Linked DNA regions of Homo sapiens: all the other regions are linked to region 2. Evidence: promoter capture Hi-C in 16 types of primary human blood cells and fetal thymus (Javierre and others, 2016). All regions are on one chromosome and are shown on one strand. The core of a region is centred on a gene start or on the middle of the fragment in contact, and the rest is flanking DNA. Distances in the headings are between cores, read along the strand shown. Region 1 holds the start of TCEANC (transcription elongation factor A N-terminal and central domain containing). Region 2 holds the start of ASB11 (ankyrin repeat and SOCS box containing 11). Region 3 overlaps OFD1 (OFD1 centriole and centriolar satellite protein).

What was found. The method cuts DNA at HindIII sites, captures the fragments that hold promoters and counts their contacts. A CHiCAGO score of 5 or more calls a contact.
Region 1: a contact is called between the fragment with the promoter of TCEANC here and the fragment with the promoter of ASB11 in region 2, in 1 of 17 cell types (neutrophils). The highest score is 5.7, in neutrophils.
Region 3: a fragment that was not itself captured here is called in contact with the fragment with the promoter of ASB11 in region 2 in 1 of 17 cell types (total CD4 T cells); the score reaches 5.7 in total CD4 T cells.

The regions. Positions count from the first base shown.
Region 1 is chrX:13,651,811-13,654,510 of GRCh38, reverse strand. TCEANC (transcription elongation factor A N-terminal and central domain containing) reads right to left here and starts at 1,370. Exons shown (of 5, transcript NM_001297563.2): 1 at 1,323-1,370. LOC107985657 (a long non-coding RNA gene) reads left to right here and starts at 1,072. Exons shown (of 1, transcript NR_171573.1): 1 at 1,072-2,014. RefSeq lists enhancers at 1,148-1,237, 1,498-1,687 and a silencer at 1,258-1,569. The HindIII fragment of the contact is 12,822 bases long and covers 1-2,700 here.
Region 2 is chrX:15,314,257-15,316,956 of GRCh38, reverse strand. ASB11 (ankyrin repeat and SOCS box containing 11) reads left to right here and starts at 1,317. Exons shown (of 7, transcript NM_080873.3): 1 at 1,317-1,532. The coding sequence starts at 1,352. The HindIII fragment of the contact is 9,481 bases long and covers 1-1,428 here.
Region 3 is chrX:13,757,050-13,759,749 of GRCh38, reverse strand. OFD1 (OFD1 centriole and centriolar satellite protein) reads right to left here. Exons shown (of 23, transcript NM_003611.3): 14 at 1,960-2,090; 15 at 1,302-1,413. Among named protein-coding and RNA genes, the nearest start is that of OFD1, 24 kb to the right of the region's middle. RefSeq lists an enhancer at 307-396. The HindIII fragment of the contact is 161 bases long and covers 1,370-1,530 here.

The DNA of each region.
Region 1 (2,700 bases), core at 121-2,620, 1.7 Mb after region 2:
GGTCAGCACACTTTTTCTGTTAAAGATCAGAAGGTATATATTCTAGGCTTTGTAGGCCATACAATCTCTATGGACTACTCAACTCTGCTGCTATTGTAGCAGCAACAGCAGATACAGAAAATAACATAAATGGATAGGCATGATCTTGCTCTGGTAACACTTGTTTACAAAAACAGGCAGGCTGGATTTGGCTGCAGGCCATAGTTTGTTGACCCTTTTCTAGAGCAGGGCTGTGCAACATATATATAACATGTAAACCACAAATATGATTTAAAATTTTCCAGTAGTCATGTTAAAAAATAAAAATTGGTGAAATTAATTATACATTTTATTTAACCCAGTGTATCCAGAATAGTCATTTCAACATGTGATTAATATAAACAAATTGAGATATTTTACATTCTTTTTCATGCTAATTCTCGAAAATTCACTGTGTCTTACACTTACAGCACATCTCAATTCGGACTAGCCACATTTCAAGTGATCAAGCCTTATGTAACTAATGGCTATCATTATTGGGACGCCACGGTTCTAGAACTGATGCTAATATGGATAATGCTTGCTTAGGTGCATACCTATACCAAAAAGTGTATACAGTGCCAGGAAAAGTAGGCACGAAATATGGTATTGGATCCATATAAAAACTTATAAAGATTAGCTAATATTATAGTAAGCAAGGTGCACACATCTGCACAAAAATGGCCTAAACCCTGAGAAGAACGAGAGGAAAGGTCTGGAAACAATGTTTCCAGAAGTTTGTAACAAGTCAAAAATAACCTAGATCTGTTCAGATCTTTAGATCTCTTTAAAGCCTAAAGAGAAACTGTAACTTTCTAGCCCTAACCCACTTAACAGCTCCCCAGCTTCACAGGGAGCCCCGCCCTCTATGGAGAGAAACGATGCCAAATGTTGGCAGCGGTGTAGCGGTTACTGAACAGCCACTCAGCACTGCACTAGGACCATTTCCCTTAATGGTGACCCCTAGTAAAGGTGCAGCGAGAGGAAGGGACCAGCCCAACTGCCCGGTCTAGCCCGGGTTCGAGTTCCGGTGGGTGGGGTCGAGCAACATGCAAAGCCTGCCGCTAATCATCTTGGGATGACGGCCCGGCACCCAGCACACAAACAGCGACAGTCCCGAGGGTTCAGCCCACTCTGGCGACCTCGACAGTCGGAGAGGAAGGGGCGGGGGTGCGAGCACCTTCGGATCTACGCCGCCCAGGGCGCACCGGAAAGCTGCCGCGAGCCGGGGTGGGCTTCCGCTGGGAATAAGGGCTCGCCTTTTTGCGGGACACAGGCCCTGGCAAACCTGAAGCATGACTCACCGAAAAGCGCAGGCGCAGTTCCGGAGCCTTCAGCCGCCCAGTGCCCACGGAGAACTTCCGATCACCGGGACTGGGACAACGTCAAGGCTCAGCCAATCCAAGCCCACAGGCCGGCGCACGTGGTCCTGGGACCCAGTGCATGCGCGCTAGGGAAATGGCTGCCGTGGGACTGCGCTCGCGCGGCTTCCTAGAGGAGGAGCCATGGCCCCGCCCCGGGCCCGAGAGAAAGAAACTGCACTTTCGTTTTTTAGCAGCAAAGTTTGTTGATGTACTTTACAACTTATCTTTTCTGCTTCTACTCAGGACAGTCAAGACAGTGCTCAGCTAGATGTTCACATAACTGTAGACATAAATGTGAATCTATTTAACGCAGTAATTAATTCAAAAAGTGTTTTTAGCATCCTAGCATGCATCAGTTGATATGAAAGTAGTAAATGTTAATTGAGTGGTCTTGTGCATCCTGGACTTCTCATCTGTGCATATTCTCATTCTTTGCCTGCAAAGGGCCAGTAAAAGCACAGTGATGGTTGAACGAATGTGACAGCCTCCTTTGCTGATGCCTTACCCCAAGGTAATTTGGGGAAAGGTTCAGGGAAACAGAGTATCCAATCCAATACTCTGGACTGGGTGCTGGCAGGAAGGAGGGCGATTGTATGATTAAGTATCATAATAAATCTTACCTAAAAGGAGGGGAGACAAGACCAGTGACTCATTAACTGGGATAGGGGATGTTTGGTCATTTTTGTGGTTTGGACAATGTTTACGTTTTTTCAGCATTCCCACGTGATTACGAAGGAGTCTTGTTTTTGTCTTGATCCATCTGGTCAAAGAGTGGCCACGTCTGATGGTGTTCTGTGAAGTATTTATGTTCCACGCAGCACCAAGGCCCAGCTGTGACTGCCGGGGCAGCTCAGAGCTGTCAGGGGTTACTTTTTTCTTGCTGTCTATTATAGGGCTAAAATGTTTAAGGATTATATAATACCTTTTTAAAGAAAAAATTATTTGGCTGGGCGTGGTGGCTCATGCCTGTAATCCCAGCACTTTGGGAGGTCGAGGCAGGCGGATCATGAGGTCAGGAGATCGAGACCATCCTGGCTAACACGGTGAAACCCCGTCTCTACTAAAAATACAAAAAATTAGCCAGGCGTGGTGGCACGTGCTTGTAATCCCAGCTACTTGGGAGGCTGAGGCAGGAGAATCGCTTGAACCCGGGAGGCGGAGGTTGCAGTGAGCTGAGATCGAGCCATTGCACTCCAGCCTAGCGACAGAGCAAGACTTGGTCTCAAAAAAAAAAAATTATTTAATGACACTTGTCACTTGTTAAAGCATGGTAAGGAAGACTTTATTCAGGACCATTGAGATAGACATAGGTACCACT
Region 2 (2,700 bases), core at 68-2,567:
CACATTTTTCAGAAATGGGCACCACCTTTACCAATGCTTGAAATGCAAGTGAATGATCAGGAGGGAACCTTGCCATGGGACCTTGTCCCAGATGGAACTACCATGGCGAGTAGTCTGATGCTTCTAGTGTGACACTTACTTGGAGAGGCATCCAAGATAGGCCTTTTATTAAATACAGGCTTGGCCGGGTGCAGTGGCTCACACCTGTAATCCTAGCACTTTGGGAGGCCAAAGTGGGTGGATCACCTGAGGTCAGGGGTTCGAGACCAGCCTGGCCAACATGGCGAAACCTCGTCTCTACTAAAAATACGAAAATTATCCAGGCGTGGTGACGCATGCCTGTAATCCCAGCTTCTTGGGAGGCTGAGGCAGGAGAATCGCTTGAACCCAGGAGGCAGAGGTTGCAGTGAGCCGCGATCGCACCATTGCACTCCAGCCTGGGCAACAGAGTAAGACTCCATCTTAAAACTAAATACATACATACGTGCATACATGCATACATACATACATACAGCTTTAGGGTAAATTGTCTTTTTTTTTTTTTTTTTTGAGACAGAATCTTGCTCTTGTCACCCAGGCTGGAGTGCAGTGGCGCGATCTCGGCTCACTGCAACCTCCGCCTCCCAGGTTCAAGCAATTCTCCTGCCTCAGCCTCCTGAGTAGCTGGGATTACAGGCACCTGCCACCACGCCCAGCTAATTTTTGTACTTTTAGTAGAGACGGGGGTTTCGCCATGTTGGCCAGGCTGGTCGCAAACTCCTGACCTCAGGTGATCCGCCTGCTTCAGCCTCCCAAAGTGCTGGGATTACAGGAGTCAACCACCGCGCCCGGCCAGGTAAATGGTCTTTTTTAACTGGTCATATTTTAGATTTGGATTTAATCCTCTATAAACTTCAGAATTAAGAGAAAATGAAATGCTCCAGGGAGTAGTATTTCCCACTTAGAACATACAGCATATTTGCACTTCTTTTGTATGTCAAATAACTTGCTTTGTTTCTGTGGAAGCCAAGAAGTTTCTATCTTTCCAACCCTGCTTTCTAACATAAAATAGGAAAAATAGGGGTTTAGGAATATAAAATGTTTGGATATGAATCTTATCTGTTAGATAGTACTGAGTTATGTAGTTCTAGAACTATTGGATGTTTCTGGTTAGAAGGAAGTTTCTTTAGTTTATTTAACACTGCTGTGGAGTCAGCACATGCAGTCGCCAAATCAGTTAGATTAGAACCTACAGAGATCTCGGTAACAGGAGCACTGAGTGCTAGAAGGTTTAAAATAGATGTCATATGATACCAATTATAACTCAGTGAAATTTTACAGTCCTAGGACCCTATACAGAGCATAAGCCAAAATGGAAGATGGTCCTGTTTTCTATGGCTTTAAAAACATTTTTATTACAATGTTTGCTACGTTTTTTTTCTTTAAGCTTTTAATTAAAGTTTTTTTGGCTCTCCTAACCCATTTCTATATCGTCAAAGGAAATAGAAAAGAAGCGGCTAGGATAGCAGAAGAGATCTATGGTGGAATTTCAGGTAAAAGTACATGAATTTGTTCCTAATATTTAAAGAAAATCCCTCCTAGATAATTCATATGACTAGTATTTCTGGAAGGCAGATTATATTTATACTTTGATTTTAAGTGGGTAGTTTGAAAAATTGTCACTTAAAGTAGCAAATGCTGTTGGCTGCATCAATTTGTGGAGGATTTTCAGCTTTATTTTTTGCAAGTTCGTAGATCTTGTAGCAGTTGTTATTTAAGAAGTAAATAGGTAGTGGCTTACTAAGAGTATTTTGAGAAACTTCATTTCTACTAGCCAAAGTAATTACTTGTATATAATTATTTTCTTTAATATTTTAAAGCAAACTTTAACAATGAAGGGCATTCTAACCAGACTAAATTCTCTCAGGAAATAGAATGACTAATAAATTATAATTAAAGCAGCAAACGTGGCAAGCTATGTGTATTTTTTTTGCTGTCATTTGCAACTGGAATTGATTAACCACTTGTCACTGTCAGGAAAAGCTCTTCACTAAACCCATTTTATATGGTAGCATGCAAAGCACTCCAAACAAAGTTTATTCTAACATGAAATGCCAAGATTTGGGCAAAACATTTTAAATTCTCATGCTTTGTAGAGAATAGTGTCCATTTCTTTCAAGAAATGATTTACTTTAATTGTGGTGAGATGCTACAAAAGTAAATGAGTCAGATATCCCTGTCACTCCTGGGATTGTCACTTAATAGAGGAGTATTTATTCATAAACAGAGTTCAGAATTTCCCCGTGTATTTTTAGTGTTTGCAGGGGTTCCAGGATTACATCATTCTTTATCTAGTATCCATTTCAATTTGCATCCAGGATTCTCTTTCAAAATAGTCTTATGTGATTCCAATACACTAGACAACTCAGAAGACACTAGACAACAGCAGTCTTATCTAAAGAAATAAGACCTCCAAGGACGAAGCATCAGAATGCTTCAATTAACTGGGGAAAATGAGAAGAATTGTGAAGTTTCAGAACGTATCAGAAGGTCCGGACCATGGAAAGAGATTTCTTTTGGGGATTATATTTGTCACACATTTCAGGGAGGTATGTTACTTTGACTAGTTACAAAAAAAAAAAAAAAAAGTAATGCTTCTGATAAGTTTCAAGTTAAGCATGATCTGAAAAGTTATCTTCTAATTTAATTTGTCAATTTGGG
Region 3 (2,700 bases), core at 201-2,700, 1.6 Mb after region 2:
TTATTTATCCCAGCATGAATATTCATACAGTTGACTGCAAAATAATTAATGTGCTTTACTATAGGATGCTGTTCAGAACTCCCAGGGCTATTGCGAAATCCACAGCATATGGCCCGAGTTTCATATAAGGAAGTGAGGACCTGCATTCACAACAACACTGTGGTCAAGAAACTCTCACTGCTCCCATTTTACAGATGGGGGGACTAAAGCTTACTGAGGCTGGGTCACACGGTTAGCAAGTCTAAGAGCTACTGGGCTTTCCTAATGCAAAGCCAGTGCACCTGCCCCTCTCTCCTGCAATGCCTCCCCGTGATGCTACAAGAAAGAAGCTTGCCCTCGGCAACACATGCATGCGAAAGAGTTCTATCCTCATTCAACTATTTTTTATTGATAGGAGACTGCTATGATTTCAGCTGTGAGAAGTTTCACAAACAGAACTGAAAGAAAATGAGGAACAGAAAAAAGCAGAAACGAGTAGAGATAAAAATAAAACAAGTGCTGGTAGAAGAGAGCAAGGAGCTGATGAGGAAACAATGCAGGTGGGAACAAGGAAGGCTCAGACCCAGTTGAACTGGTAACACATACGTACTTTCTTTGAACTTGAAAGCAACTGAAGAATAAAGTATCTGAACTTTAATATCCTTCTTACGAAGTAGGAAGGGGCAGAGATGCATCCACAGTGAAGACACAATAATAAAATGATACCAATAACCATTTCCTGAGTGTCTTTTATGTCCCAGGCACTGGACTGAAACCCATTTCATCTTTTTCATCATGGCTCAGTAGGTATTATTATCCCCATTACAAATGAGGAGACTGAGGCCCAAGGAAGTTAAAGTAACATGCCCAAGGTCAAACAACTTCAAAACGGGTCCAAAAGAAGAACAGTTCTGATTCTGAAGGCAATATTCTTTTTGCTAAACCACCCTGCTTGTCCTGTATATTTATATATCTATCAAGGAATCCGTAAAACTACTGAATTGGTGTTAACATTGGGGTAACAAATAAAAAAGGAAATCCTATAATGAATATGGGGACTTCTATGTTACCACCACGCCTTTCCTATTGGGGCATGAGACTCTCCCAAGCCATGAGGCACCTATGAAGCAAAATACTTTTGCTGATGATCCAGATGGTATTACCAAAATGGATAGGGAGTTTTACTTCTAAGATGACACATATTTCTATGGCTTTTCCCCTAAAACAATAATTAATATTCAATAAATTATGATCATTACATTTTCACAGACACCAGAAGCTTTATACATACAAAAATATTTATGGGTTAAAACGTCTCTAACCTGTCTGAGTTTGCTTCAGTTGCAATTTTAAATCGGCAACCTGAGTAGTTAAACTCTTTACAGAAGCTTTGTAACCTAGAATCTGGGCCTTCAGCTGTGCAGAATGCTCAATCTGAAAAGATTCAGAATAGGAAAAGAAATCAATGTAAAACAAATCACAGCTTGCTTCAAAAGGAAAAGTTCTCTTATCATGTTTGTACTCTTTTTGTTCTGCCAATTCCAAGAAGCTTTATGACAGTAAACAACAGGGTCCCTATTAAAAAAAAACACAAGCAGAACACACAAACAAGTTCTTCACCATCTTTTTCAGTCATATCAAAGAACTCTAGGGCATGCAGGCAGAAATCAGAAGACAGTGAATGTTTGTAATACTTATCAGGGTGAGAATCGAGAGATAACAGTGGGCACCATCAGGCACTCAGAAAATTTTATGTTTAGGTGAGTTTGCTTTCTTCTCCATTTTATTACTATTACGAATATAAAGTCACGTTATCACTGCAGAATTTTCTCAGATGAGAAAGGATACCTTTAGCATATTTGGGGGAGTAATGTTTGATGTTAAAATAAATCTGATTTACACTAGTGTGACTTGTGCCAAGTTTACGTAACTATGAAGTGTACTGGTATCACACTAGAACTGAAGAAGAGCAATACTCACTTCGTCTTGCAGTTGTTTGTGCAGAGCTTGCCTGCAGCTTTCGAACTCCTCATGCTCAACCACTATAGCCTTTTCGGCTTTCCGTAGTTCTTTCTGAAAGACTGCAAGTTCAGGAGCCGGCTGAGCTAGGCCTAAGAAGGTAAAAAAAAAAAAAAAATCCTAGTCATTACCAACCTTAAGTTTTCTTATTTAACTTAACAAAAACAGTTAAAGGGGTTTTAAAGTGTTCTTTGCTTTGTACTGACTCAATAAATATGATAATAATTCTATTAAATGAGCTCAGAGCAATCCTGACTCTCAAATTTCACAACAAAAGAATTTAGTGCATGTTAATGCAAACTTTATTACCCTTGGAGTCCTACTCCAAGTAAAAGAACTCTTTCAAATTCTCAAATTAACCTGAAAGCCTGTTTCTCTCCTCTACTGTGCACAGAAGGAGCTCTCTATCTGGTCTACCTGTTGATGACAGCCCTGGGATCCAATATGATCTGGGCATCTGACAGCAGCAGTTGGGATCCAGGCAGAAGGCAGATGGCTCTCACGGTCAAGGTCATCTAAGAACCCTTTAATAAAGGTTGACTTATTCAGGGTATGCACAAAGGATGGTGGAGTTCCCTGGGTGGGCTAGTAACAGGGCCATACTGTTAGCGCTCCTTGGGCCTGGGGAATCAGAGGAGGGAGAAATTCTCAGCACTAGAGACAGGGTGGTGGTGCAGAGCACTTGGAAGAGGTAATCGCAGG